Linked DNA regions of Homo sapiens: all the other regions are linked to region 1. Evidence: promoter capture Hi-C in 16 types of primary human blood cells and fetal thymus (Javierre and others, 2016). All regions are on one chromosome and are shown on one strand. Each heading gives the region's core, a stretch centred on a gene start or on the middle of the fragment in contact. The rest is flanking DNA. Distances are from core to core; before and after follow the strand shown.

What was found. The method cuts DNA at HindIII sites, captures the fragments that hold promoters and counts their contacts. A CHiCAGO score of 5 or more calls a contact.
Region 2: a contact is called between a fragment that was not itself captured here and the fragment with the promoter of HLF in region 1, in 10 of 17 cell types (total CD4 T cells, non-activated CD4 T cells, megakaryocytes and 7 more). The highest score is 8.2, in total CD4 T cells.
Region 3: a contact is called between a fragment that was not itself captured here and the fragment with the promoter of HLF in region 1, in 4 of 17 cell types (total CD4 T cells, non-activated CD4 T cells, fetal thymus and 1 more). The highest score is 7.4, in total CD4 T cells.
Region 4: a fragment that was not itself captured here is called in contact with the fragment with the promoter of HLF in region 1 in 4 of 17 cell types (total CD4 T cells, fetal thymus, total CD8 T cells and 1 more); the score reaches 7.3 in total CD4 T cells.
Region 5: a contact is called between a fragment that was not itself captured here and the fragment with the promoter of HLF in region 1, in 1 of 17 cell types (erythroblasts). The highest score is 6.0, in erythroblasts.

Annotation. Positions count from the first base shown.
Region 1 is chr17:55,263,470-55,266,289 of GRCh38, reverse strand. It overlaps HLF (HLF transcription factor, PAR bZIP family member), which reads right to left and starts at 1,330. Exons shown (of 4, transcript NM_002126.5): 1 at 691-1,330. The coding sequence starts at 805. RefSeq lists a silencer at 1,207-1,526. The HindIII fragment of the contact is 7,530 bases long and covers 1-1,801 here.
Region 2 is chr17:55,046,894-55,049,593 of GRCh38, reverse strand. It overlaps STXBP4 (syntaxin binding protein 4), which reads right to left. Exons shown (of 18, transcript NM_178509.6): 12 at 2,440-2,505. Among named protein-coding and RNA genes, the nearest start is that of STXBP4, 79 kb to the right of the region's middle. The HindIII fragment of the contact is 551 bases long and covers 1,142-1,692 here.
Region 3 is chr17:55,010,277-55,012,976 of GRCh38, reverse strand. All of the region lies in intron 8 of STXBP4 (syntaxin binding protein 4), which reads right to left. Among named protein-coding and RNA genes, the nearest start is that of STXBP4, 43 kb to the right of the region's middle. The HindIII fragment of the contact is 985 bases long and covers 874-1,858 here.
Region 4 is chr17:55,027,339-55,030,038 of GRCh38, reverse strand. The region is part of intron 8 of STXBP4 (syntaxin binding protein 4); the gene reads right to left. Among named protein-coding and RNA genes, the nearest start is that of STXBP4, 60 kb to the right of the region's middle. The HindIII fragment of the contact is 1,180 bases long and covers 776-1,955 here.
Region 5 is chr17:55,512,272-55,514,971 of GRCh38, reverse strand. It overlaps a transcript of SMIM36 not described here. Among named protein-coding and RNA genes, the nearest start is that of SMIM36, 2.2 kb to the right of the region's middle. The HindIII fragment of the contact is 1,626 bases long and covers 468-2,093 here.

The sequences.
Region 1 (2,820 bases), core at 81-2,580:
CTCCTGCGCGGTTACACGTGAGCCTGCTCCGCTCTCCCCTCCCACCAGAAAAAGTGCACCGGGAAAGTGTCAACGCTGGAGGCGTGCACGGCTTCCCGCCGAGAGACCACTCCCCCCACCGGCCCCAGCCCCCACCCCGCTTTCTCAGCTACCCTTCACCAGAAGAAAACGAGTCTTCTCTCACACCTCGTGAGTTCCAAATACTAACCAGTAACAGAAGCTGTAACACAACCCCAAAACCCAGGCTACGCAGTGAAACCCCCTCCCTCAAGCCGACCCCCGCCCCCTGCCCCGCACAGAACCAGGCCCCAGGGTTTCTCCTCCCCAGCCCGGGAGGCTCTGCCCTCCGCAGGCGGGCTCGCTCTGCGTGCGGGTGTGCCTCGTTCTAGGGAACGATCCTGACCTGTCAAGTTACACCTCCCACCCGCGCCGCAGGAGCGGGACCCAGGGAGGCCGGGTGCCCGAAGCTCTTTTAAATGTAGCTCAGGAGGGGTCCCTCCCCTTTCATGGAGGAGGAGGAAGGGGAGGAAGGGTGCTGGGTGAGCTCCTCAATTTCATCAGCGCGGGGCCGGGGCGCCGCGGGACAGGGCGGGAGCGGGGTTGGGGGATGCTCCAGCGGGCGTGCCCGGCCGCGGAGGGGGACCCCCGGAGCGTCGTCCCTTCCCGGAGCGGGGCCGCGGCAGCGCTCACCGTCTTCGTGGTGAAGGGGGAGCTTCAGCGGGTTCTCCAGCAGGGACCTGAGCACGCCGTAGGGAGGCGGGATAAAGGTGGGATTCAGGGGGAGCGGTCGGGACATTTTCTCCATCGCGATGCACTCAAATTTTTTCCCCTTAAAAAAAGAAATAAGAAAGAAACAACCGCCCCCTAAAATGTTGCTGAGCTTTTCCTCCGTCCTTTGCCAAAAGTACTCGCTCTCAAGGCGGTGGAGAAAAGGGAAGAAAAAAATTACTTATATCTTTATAAATACATCTGCATAAAAATATATATTAAAAAAAAACTTTCGGGTTTCCAGTGCAGACGGTCCCAGGAGAGCGCGCCAAGTGCCCGCGGGCTCCCCGGCGACGTGCAGGATGCTCTCACCTGCCTCGAACCCCTCGTTTTGCAAAATGTTCAAAATTGAAAAAAAGAAAGAAAAAAAAATGTCGACGGCTGCAGAAGGGCAGAAGACACCGCGCCGACCCCAGCCCCTAGTGCCAGCACCGGAGGCGGTGCGCCGTCCCACCCCACCCCCCTCCCCGCGCCGGCGGCCGCTGCTCCCCAGCGCTCCGCGGCCCCGCAGCGCCGGGCTCAGCGCATCCGGCCGCCCATGTGCCGCGGCCCTGACAAGAGTGACGTCAGGGCCCGCACCTCGCGCCCATAGGCGTGCGGGGGCGGGGCCACGCGCGGCACCGCCCGCCTGGCCCGCTCGCCCCGCCGCCGCGTGTTTAGCGTCGCCGCTCGCGCCGATTTTCGGGGACCTTGCAGCACTGGCTGGTTGCAGGGGAGCAGGTGCCAGATTCCCTGGGCCATCAACTTAGGCTTAGATTTTTTTTTTTTTTTTTGGTCTGGGTGGGAAGAGGAATGAGAAATTTATATCCATAGTTTTCAAGCTGGGAATAACCTGAGGAGTTTTAAAAAAATCGCGATACCCAGGCCGCATCCCAGATCAATTAGATCAGAACCTCTGCGGTGCTATCAGGGCGTCCATAATTTTTAAAGCTCCCCAGGTGGTTCCAAAGAGTAGCCAAGTTTGAGATGATTGGTTTAGATCGGATGGAAGGTAACGACCCTTCTCAATATTTCTCCTGGCCCCGGCCAAGCTTAGCGTCTTCTTTCTTGCCCAGTTTCCACCACCACCAAAAAATAACTACTTCCTATAAGTCCGAATGGGATGCAAAAAGCAGAGCGGGAAGCGGAGGACTGAGCTGCTGGGCACTGTTTCCCACGCTGCAGAGAGGTGTTAACGGTGGGGGGAGAGGGGGGGTAGACATTTGCCTGAAACGGAAAGAGGCGGGAGAGACACAGACACACTGAACGGGATTTTAGGAATATTTACTCTGGGTGAATACAGGTGATTGCGCTTGGGTCAAGTTATTAGGTTTGCACGGTGATTAAAATAATTTTGTAAAGTATCCCCTAAGGGGGCTTCGGCTTTCCTTGCTGTTACAGCAGCTGCAGCGTCTCCCTCTGCCAGTTTGACCTCGTGGCACCCACGGTCCCCGAGATCTGCGTGCGACCCCCTGTGTGATAACTCCCTTCCCGCCTGGGGTGGTGCGGGCGCTGGCGTGCAGCCGCGACGCCCCCTGCAGAGCTCCGCGGGGGGCCAGGCAGGTTCTTCCCCTCCCTCCTTACCTCTCCTTACTAAGACCCTAGTCTTCGATCTGGGGAAGGGGCTGCAAGAACGAATGGGCACAAATGAAAGAAAACCGTTTTTCAGTGGGACGTAAAGGCCTTTGTGACCCCAGGCTGAGTCGCTGGGGAAGGATGTGGTGGTGTCTTGATGGGGTTTACTTCCCCAGGAGAGGGTTGTAAGAGAGGAGGCGCCTGAAACCCCAGAGATCAGGAGCGGCGGCGCAGCGGGGTTCAGAGTTCCCTGGCAGGGTGATTCCGGCAAGTGCCTTTCTGCCCTGAGCTGTAGGTTCTTCATAAAAGGACACGTAATCTAGTGACCTCTACTTCCTCACTCTAAAATTATGGCAAAAGGGTAAGGCAACATTCTAAGTGAGATGTTGTTGCAGTGTTTCAGGTTTCAGACGAATTCCAGAAACAGCAAACTTTTAGTTAATGCCACATGCATTTATTGAGCACCACGGTATGTATGCCAGCGACTATGCGGGGGCT
Region 2 (2,700 bases), core at 168-2,667, 220 kb after region 1:
CTATAGGTTACCTTTCCATTATTACTTTTTAAGTGCTTGCTATCTCCTCTATTTTTACCTAATTTTTATCTGATATCAGTTTTAAATATTTATTGACTGCTACGCTTTGCTTATATAACAAAATGATGTATTCTGTTTTCCTCTTTTTTCTTTCTTATCCTCCCATTAAAAAATTTGCATCTTTTGACTTTTGTTAACACATGTAATGTTCATGCTATTTTTTTCATCCATGCACTGACTCATTTTAGTCTCACCTGTACAATAAAATATATGAAGTTCTCACCATTTGGGAACATTTTCCAAAGTTATTTTAGGCATTTTTTAGTTGGATAAAACTCATCCTATCTGAAGGTCTTCAGGAATATCATGTGTGAAATATTCCCTTAGTACTGGTATATCACAAACTGTTTTCTATGGCCTTGATATTTTAAAGTCAGGTTGGCTATATAAAACATTTTTGTATACTTTCTTTCTTTCCTTTCATGTCCTGAAAATGTTGTTCCACTATTGCCTTACTTTGCATGTTGTTTTGAGAAACCCAATGCTGGTCTAATTCTATTGCCTTCATAAGTTGCTTAATCTTTTTACTTGGAGGCAGTGTGCATTTATTTTCCTCTAAAGTCTAATAATTTTACTAGAATATATTGTACAGTAATCTTTCCAGGTCAGATTTCCCCAGTACCTATATTAGATTCAGGTCTTGTTTTAATTATAGAAAGTTTTCTTGGATTATAGTTCTAAGTATTAGGCTGTTCAGTTATTTTGATTGATTTCTTTAAGAAACTCTTTTACTTCTTGATTATATTTTCACTTTCCTAGTTGCTTTTCTTGTTTTCTTCATTGCCTTTTCACTTGATTATATTCTTCCTGGAGCAACTTGTAATTTAGTTTTCATTTCTGATAGGATTTTGTCTCTTCCTTCTTTCCTAAGTTTTATCAACTCTCATTTCACTTTTTCCTGATTTTTTTGGGGGTGATCAATATCTATTATTACTATTTTTTAAGTTTCTCATTTGAGATGTGTTTTTCATAGCCCAAATGCTTATTTGAGGAAATTCCCTTGAGTATGGAGTGTGACGTTACATTTTTCTTAAGTTTTGTGGTTAAATTGTTTTGGAAAGTTTTCATCAGGAGGAAAGCTTTCATTGATATCATCTGACTTTTTCAGTCGTTTTATAATGATGGAGATAGAATTTTTGTTCTATACTTTTTTATTTCACAGAAAAAGTTCTTAGTTCAAGAGCACTCTCTTCTGTGCAGTTTCTTCTATGGATCTTGTTTTGATGGTCATAGGGTAGGGTGGGTGGATTAATAAGTTGTGTTCTGCTTTCATTTCTATAAGCTCCTTAATTTTCCCTTCTTATTTCCTTCTTTCCTATCATTGCGAAGTCTCCAAGGAATTCTATCCATTCTCTATTGATCTGGTTCTTCCTCAGAAACAATGATTCTTCAAGGCTGCCATTTTTGATTGCATTCATACCTTGAAGTCTCTTTTTTTGTAGCTAGTGCTAAGAACCACCAAGTCTTGACATACGGCCAGTATTTTGGCATTTATGTTTACCTTTTCTCTTTCTGGGGGTGATTTTGTTTGTTCTTCATCTAATTCATAGTTTCTCTCTACTCTTTATTTCAGAATTTTTCAAGCCTTGCCTCCTCTGTTCTCTGTATTCCAGGTTTCAGTAAAGGCAAGCTTCAGAAGTTTTGTTGGAATTATTATTTTTCTTGTTGTATTTATATGTACTTTAAAGGCTGTGGTGTTTTTTTGTCACATAGTCATATTCAAAATATGGGTCCTGTATGGTTCTATCTGCTTTCTTTGTTGATTTTATGTTTTCTAGGGGGACTGTGTGAGGGAGATTCAAAATCAGGTGATCACTGTTGATCTCTAACAATGTTCTCTTATTTATATTTTGTCATTTGGGTTTTCATTTTATGATATTGTCATATATTTGTTTTATAGTGAGCTACCTCAAATTCTTTGAAGAATAATGCAAAGTGAAAATAAATATTTGCTTTTTATTATTAACAAATAAATGTAAAAAATGCTCTGCCTTGATGACTTTTTTGTTCTTTAGTAAAATGAAGTATGAGTAACAAAATAAAAAAGAAAAAGAAAAAAGGGGAAATGAAAGAAAAGAAAAAACAATGGAGAAGTAATGAGATTGGTTATTTTGGTCTATGGATATGTTTTTTTCAAAGAAATTTCAAAGAGGTTTTAACATTGTTTTGAGCAATAGTAGCAAGACTTTAGCATAGGTACAGCCTCCAAAAGTGATTGCTTTTAAGCTCTGTGCTATTTTGTATTATGTAATATGTATCAGGAAGCTCTGGGATATTGTAAAGAACCACTGCTTTATAATTATACCTCATATGTTCACACACACACACACACACACACACACACACACGAGCACATATATACACAATACATATACTTACTTGTTTCACATTCTGGAGCTCTTCTGTCAATTGTTTCCTTTGCTTATCTGATTCCAATAATTTTTCCTATATTTAAAAACCACCAAATTAACAACTTGTTATGAAAGTATTAACAAGTGTGACTTCTTAGTCCCTTGTTTCAAGGCCTATATTCCCAAATATCAAATTGCTACAATCTGAAAATATTGCTCCTAGTCATTTTTCTGGCTTTACATGAGGCACTTAAAAGTAATTAGTTATTTACAGTAAATTGTGATGTAA
Region 3 (2,700 bases), core at 117-2,616, 250 kb after region 1:
CTTGAAAGGCCAGTGCTGCAACTGTGCACTTGTGCAACTCTTAACCCAGTCACATTTCTTCCAGACAATGAAGATAGAATATAACTGTCAACAAATAATTTCTCAAACCTATGCCACTCGAGGGGACCTTCTAGAGGTTCCCTTGACTGATCCTGACCTCAACTTGTATACTGATGGAAGTTCCTTTGTAGAAAAAGGACCTCAAAAAGCGGGGTATGCAGTGGTCAGTGATAATGGAATATTTGAAAGTAATCCCCTCACTCCAGGAACTAGTGCTTAGCTGGCAGAACTAATAGCCCTCATTGGGGCACTAGAATTAGGAGAAGGAAAAGGGTAAATATATATACAGACTCTGAGTATGCTCACCTAGTCCTCCATGCCCATGAGGCAATATGCAGAGAAAGGGAATTCCTAACTTCCGAGGGAACACCTATCACACATCAGGAAGCCATTAGGAGATTATTACTGGCAGTACAGAAACCTAAAGAGGTGGAAGTCTTACACTGCTGGGGTCATCAGAAAGGAAAGAAAAGGGAAATAGAAGGGAACTGCCAAGCAGATATTGAAGCAAAAAGAGCTGCAAGGCAGGACCCTCCATTAGAAATGCTTATAGAAGGAACCCTACTATGGGGTAATGCCCTCCGGGAAACAAAGCCCCAGTACTCAGAAGAAGAAATAGAATGGGGAACCTCATGAGGACACAGTTTCCTCCCCTCAGGATGGCTAGCCACCGAAGAAGGAAAAATACTTTTGCCTGCAGCTAACCAATGGAAAGGTAACCAATGGTGCACTGTGAAGTGTGCCAAAGAAATAATCCCCTGCACTGCAGGCTATACATTTCAATCCCTGTATCTTTAACCTCCTTGTTAAGCTTGTCTCTTCCAGAATCGAAGCTGTAAAACCATAAATAGTTCTTCAAATGGAGCACCTGATGCAGTCCATGACTAAGATCTACCGCGGACCCCTGGACCGGCCTGCTAGCCCATGCTCTGATGTTAATGACATCGAAGGCACCCCTCCTGAGGAAATCTCAACTGCACAAACCCTACTACACCCCAGTTCAGCAGGAAGCAGTTAGAGCGGTCGTCGGCCAACCTCCTCAATGGCACTTGGGTTTTCCTGTTGAGAGGGGGGACTGAGAGACAGGACTAGCTGGATTTCCTAGGCCGACTAAGAATCCCTAAGCCTAGCTGGGAAGCTGACCACATTCACTTTTAAACACAGGGCTTGCAACTTATCTCACACCCGACGAATCAGGTAGTAAAGAGGGCTCACTAAAATGCTAATTAGGCAAAAACAGGAGGTAAAGAAATAGCCAATAATTTATTGCCTGAGAGTACAGCGGGAAGGACAATGATCGGGATATAAACTCATGCATTCGAGCCACCAATGGCTACCCTCTTTGGGTCCCCTCCCTTTGTTATGGGAGCTCTATTAAATCTTGCAACTGCAAAAAAAAAAAAAAAAAGAAAAAGAAAATAAACTCTTTGATCCCACAATACTTAAATTAACTGAAAATTTTTGAAAAATACAGAAATGACGAACTCAAAATTTCCCCTCTTTTGGGGAGAGGTACATATGATCAAGAAGAAATACATTAGCAATGTCAAAGGTTCTGATTCTTAAGTTGGGTGATGGGTAAATGTGTGTTTTATTATTCTTTAAACTGTATGTGTATAATACATACATTCTTGTACATGATTAATATTTTAATATAAAGAAATTTAAAAAAAATTAAAAAAAATAATGCAAATAAAGTGTCTATCACAGAAGGTGCTCAATATATGGTAATTCTTACATTAAGTAATAAAATTACACAATGCAATTAACTCAGTGTACTTTGATATAGAGCTAAGCTTAGTAATAAATGACAGTTTTGTTGAAAGTAAAATTCACACTAGAAGAATACCACATGTCATGTTAGGTAAGCTCTTAAATTTAAGTTGGAAGTAACATGTTTTATCAAAAAGTAGGTCTCATATGTAAGCAGAATATGTATGGGGAAAAAAGTAAAACAAAAAGTTGGTTCCAATAATTTATTAAATGACTAAGGTCATCTTTTAATCTGAAGCAAAAATAAAAGTTTGTTAATTAGACAAATAAATGTGCTGAAGTTTTTCTGATGTCTGAATGATGAATTTTAAAAATTACTTTGTTACAATATTAGTCACACACCTTTCAGCCTAATACAAAGAATATTTCATTAACTATAATGAGACATTGGGTATGCCATTGCTCTCTACAGTTTTCTTGAAACGTTACAGAAATGGCAAGAGGTAAAAGTAAATATCAGCGAAATGGCATCCATATCCCAAAGCATCTTCCATAGGTATAAATATACAGATAATGCAGAGGTACGATATTTTGATTTCAAGCCAAGCAATAAATTGTATCCCTATTTGCTAAGTTTATAATGCATATTTATAAGTTTAATATTAGGATCAAATGAGACATATACTATTCATACTTTGAAGAAATATATCACTACAAATAACTATGCTGAAATAACATTAAAATATCTGTATATTAAATCATTCTCAGAGTATTCACAGAAAGAGGCAAATGTAAATCCATTTTACAGACAAGGAATTAAGAAATAACTAGTTCAGTGTTATAAATTTCTCTACTTAAACCAATAAAATATAAAAGAATTCATGACAATGCCACATGTATATATACATATGTCTGAACATATATATG
Region 4 (2,700 bases), core at 116-2,615, 240 kb after region 1:
TATGGCAAGAGCATATATAGTGTCGATCACATCAAAACTAAAATGTAGGCAAAGTTTAGTATTGGTAATTATCTCTTACATATTTCTTCCTCCTTTAGAATCTCGTTCAATCATTTAGTAATTCATTCATCAAATAATTTATTTGGTGCCTACTATTTGTCAGCCACTAAACTATGCATAGGTGATAGATAAATGAAATATAGTCTCTCACCCCAAAGAGTTTACGGTCTCAAGGGTGAGAACAACTGTAAAGAAATAAGTAAAACACATAATTTAATAGAAGTATGTATAGGGTATATTAATACACAAAGCAACTGGTTAATCTGTAAGTGAGCAATTTGGGAACAATGAAAGAAGAATGGAGAAAGAATATCAGGAAAGATTCTTTCAAAAATGATTCTTAAGCTTAGTCTAGCATCATCTGCTTATCTCGTATAGTAGTCAAGTATTTGCATTGTATAACATGGCATAATGATTTTTAGCTTCTGTATTTTTTTCTCTTCAGTTATAAAAATGTTTCAAATATAAACACAAAAAATAATAATACAAAGAACACCTATATACTCACTATCATCAATTACTCATTGATATGTACTTAAAATTTATGTATATATTTTCAATAAATAAAACTATATATTCGGTTAAAAGTTTTTATAAATTATTCCTCAGCAGGAACTACTATCCTAAGTATTCTTCCTGGTCTTAATTTAATGACATTTACTACATAAGCAAGTATCCCCTAATAATATGTACTCTTATTTTGTGCATTTAAGCTTTTACCTCAAAAGCATAATCTTAAAGAGTAACTCTACAAATTATTTTTATTTTTACCTCAATTTTATGATTTCATAATTGCTCAATATTGTCTGCAAAACTAGTTCACTTATTTTAACTGTGAACAGTAATCCGTTGTATGAATTTATTGTAATTTATTATCCATTCCCTGATTAACAGGCTTTTATAACTACTCCAATCTGCTTTTTTTTTTAAATTACAGAACATTATACATGTCTCTTTGTAAAAATGTGTGAAAATTTCTCTACATTATATCCCTAGAAAAGGAAGTGCTAAGCCATAGGGGACATATGGTCAATTTTATTAGATATTGTTGAATTGTTCTCCAAACTGGCTTCATTAATTTATGCACACCAGTAGTGAATAAGCATTTCTATTTTTCTACATTCTTTTTTTTCCTTTTTGAGATTTAACAGCATCTGCTGTTTCCACTCTTATTTTGTCAATGTTGTATTTGAAATAGTATGCTGTTTGTTAATTTGAATTCCCCTAATTACAAGTGCAATTAAACATCATTTACATGTTTATTAGCAATGTTTTTGACTCACAAATTATTTAAAATATGTTTTAAATTTTCATACATGAGGTTTTAAGAAGTATCTTTACTGATTTTGAATTTGGTCTCTATCTTCCAGCTGTGACAACCAAAAATGTCTCCAGACACTGCCAAATGTCCCAAGAAGAAAAACTGCAGCCCTGCCCTTGAGAACCACTGCTCTGAAGACAATTGCCATATTAACAATTGGTGTCTAATTTTTCAGGTTTTTTTCTATGAATATAGTACCTATAAATTTATATAAATTGTGGATTTTTTGCAAAAATTGTCACACTATAGTGTTAATAATTATCAATATATTACTCCTTTCTATTCTGTACATTTTACAAATATTGCATGCTTTTTAAAATTGTTATGTTTGTACACTGTCTGAAGTGAACTTTTTTTAAAGCATTCTCCTTCTGATAATCATTTAGATTATACACAATTTTTCACTATGGAACACAATGCTACAAAGTGCTAGTGCTCTTTGCTTTATGCCAATGACTTCAGCAGCTGTAAGAATTATCTGGATTTTTTAAAAAATTATAAAATATTAATACAGAAGTTATAGGACATACTATAATAAAGTAATAGATATCTACTATCTTGCTTCATTAAAGCTTAGCAGTCAACTATATTTACTTCAGTTTTTGAATGTAACCAAAACATATAAAAACCCCTTTTGAACTTATTCCCAGAGGTAAGACTTATCATATATTTGATTTACTATTCCCATGAATTTTTTATTATATAATATTTGGTATATACTAAAAGCATATATGTAAAAAAACATGAGTTTTAAAGTAGGACAATAAAACACCTATGAATCCACTTAAGCAGCATAAAACTGTGAATACTGTTGGATTCATATCACAATATGGATATGGTATTTCACCAGAGGTAACCATACTAATGAATTCTGAACTATTGATTTCTTCTTTATCATTCTTGATCTGTTTATTTTAAAATGGTTTTATCACATACATATGTATTCCTAACATGTTACTTTGTTTTACTGGTTTTTTAGCTTCATAAAAATGCTACAGATAGTTTTCTAAAACTTGCTTTTTTCACTCTACAGTAAGGCTTACTACATATTTCAAATCAGAAAGTGTGAGTTCAACTTTTTTCTTTTTTTATTTCAATAGCTTTTGGGATACAAGTAGTTTTTGATTACATAGATGAATTGTATTAATGGTGAAGTCTGAGATTTTAGTTTACCTGTTTACCCGAGTAGTGTTCACTGTACTCAATATGTAGTTTTTTATCCCTTGCCCCACACACCATCCCCCTTCTGAGTCTCCAAAGTCCATTATTTCACTTCCTTTGTGCTTGCCTTATGATACTCAAGGGACGTACTCTAGTAT
Region 5 (2,700 bases), core at 31-2,530, 250 kb before region 1:
CAAACTCCCAATGCTTTTTTAAATAAGTTTATAACATTTTTACCTCTGAAGTTGACACTTCTCTAAGGCACTAAGACTTTTGGGATACCATATTTTATCAAGGAAGCAAGGCACTCTGAAATACCAGAGATAAATTTTCATCCAGAATAGTTGATATACAAAAATATGTTTGTTTTAAGTAATAAACTCTACTTACCTAAAAATGTATTTATATGGGACACATATTTATCTGGTATTATTAAGTAATATTCCAGGCCAGCCATCAAAATGAACTACACTGCAAGTAAATATGTAAACAACTGAAGACCCATAGAATACCTGCCCAATGGGTCTTGAATGCTCCATAGAATAAGTTATGCATGTACCTGTTTTATTCATATTTTATGCAGTAGAAAAGAGAGATGAGAGGGTGAGAGGGAAAAAGGGAATGAGAATAAGCTCATTCAATTCCACTGCCTCTTTAAGCTTCAATTTTCTCATTTTAAAAAATTGGGTTGATAATTCCTTTTTTCCTCTGAGCTCTACATTTGTTATACAGTGTGCTTTCAGTATCACATTATCAAGCTCTAAAGTGCTTAGTACCTTGCTAGCATATGGTAAGTGCACAATTCATATTTGTAATAAACGAAGGAATTAGTATGTCAAGGCTACCTCAAGGGGTTCTTCTGAAATGCAGCTTGTTATTGTTTTTACCTATGTCACCCTGTCATCCGTCCCAGTTTGCCTATTGCCAAGTTTTTTTCTTTATTTAGCAGCCCCTGCTTTGGCCACTAGATGGCACCAGAGGAAAGTTCCTTAAAGACAGCAAAAGAAGGAAAGATGGGTGAGGTTAGCCCCAGTATGAATAAAGGAGCCACCCAGGTTAATTAAGTAAAACAAGCACCCAGCATTTCACCGAAGACATTGCAAGGAAGTGAAGCCTTCATGAGACTGGACTTCAAATGAACTTTGAGCACTGGTGGAAACAGAAACAAAAAACTCTCTGCTAATAGAAATAAGATACTGGAACCAAAGACAATAGCCTTGAACAAAACATTCCGGGACACCACGGGTATCAGCAGAATGGGGGCAATCTAAGAAGACAGGCCAGACCAGATCACTCACCATGATTAATGATTATCACCATTACACAGAGAAACCTAGATCTGATATGAAAACTCCACTCAATAGAGCAGATCTGTTGCATATATTTCAGTTTAATTTAATGTGGACTAAACTATATGTAGTTCTCATTTCAGAGTCAATTTTAACCAATCCTTGTGTCATCTATTTAAAGTCACCAAATAACTCCCCTAAATATTGTTACATGGAGGCACCTGGGCTATCCAGACTCAGTTTACTATAGAAGTCACGAATCTAGAGTCCCGAGTGGGCAAAAGAAAGTAGGCATCTGGTACATAATGCTGCCTTTTAAAGCCTCGCTTCTGTCTGGTGCATTGCACGTGACTTACAGATGCAACAGACAACTCTACTTGCTGTGTGATTCTGTGCTTACCAGAAACTTTCCAATTATAAATGGACTTTTCCTGTAGATCTGCCTTCAGGAAGAAAAAGCTATGTCCTTGCAAGCACAAAATTAATTCTCTGAATCTGTCGGACTTAAAACCTTGGACAGTGTTGAATTCTGTGTTGAATGCCCCCTGGAATAGCTCTTCACAGATCACCAAAGCCCTGGTGACCGCATATTGGCCCATTTTCTTCACGTCCTTTTTTTCTACTTTTATAGCCATGATTCTCCATCCTGGTTGCAGATCAAAATTATCCATGAAGATTTTTATTAATACAGATCCCCAGACTCTAGTCCCAAAGATTCTAACTCAGTAGATCTAGGGTTGATCCAGGTATCTGTATTCAAAAGAGACCCAATAGATTCCAATAAGGCTGACCCTAAATCTATGGTGTTTCAGAATCATGCATCTTCTGGATTATAATTCCATAAGTTAGTCCAGGACCATAGAATCATGGACGATATTATTTGGAAAAACGTCTCCAGATGCATAAGAACCCCATACTACAACATCTTCAAATGCTCAGGTTCCCATGGAAGCTCAGTATAAAGGAGGCTGACAGGAAGACACTAGCCCATTGAAGCTTAACACTAAGAAACCAGCAGACCTTTGGGAACTTCAGCTTTTAACTAGGAGTATCCAAAAAGTCCTATTAGCTATTGGAGAAAAGGCTACTGATGCCCTAGCTGGCCAAAAATACATATATGAGACCAAGACCAGATACGTAATTTGTGGGTCCCAGTGCAAAGTTGAAAAGTTAAGAATTTCAAGATGGCAACAGCAGAGCATTAAACCAAGTGTGAGCTCTTTCTGAGAATGGAACGTTGTGCAGCTGCACAGGGCACATGCCCATGAAGTAGCCTATGCGGGACTATTGGGACCAGGCTACAACTGAGGCAGGACAGTGATTTGTACATCAAGGAATAACTGTAATCCGATCAGTATCTGATCTTCCTCTCAATTTGCTTGTTTTTCTGCATCCTTGAGGCAGCCTTTGGGAATCTCTTTAAAATGCAAATTCAGTAGTGTCACTCCCCTGTGCAAAAGCATTCAATGGCATCCCATTGCTCTAGGATCATATCTAAAGTCCTGAGTATGGCCCACAAGTGCCTGTGCCTTCTGGCCCCTGTCTACCTCTCCCACCTTGTGCTCCCATTCTCTTTATGCTCCAGTCACACTGCCCTTGTTTCAG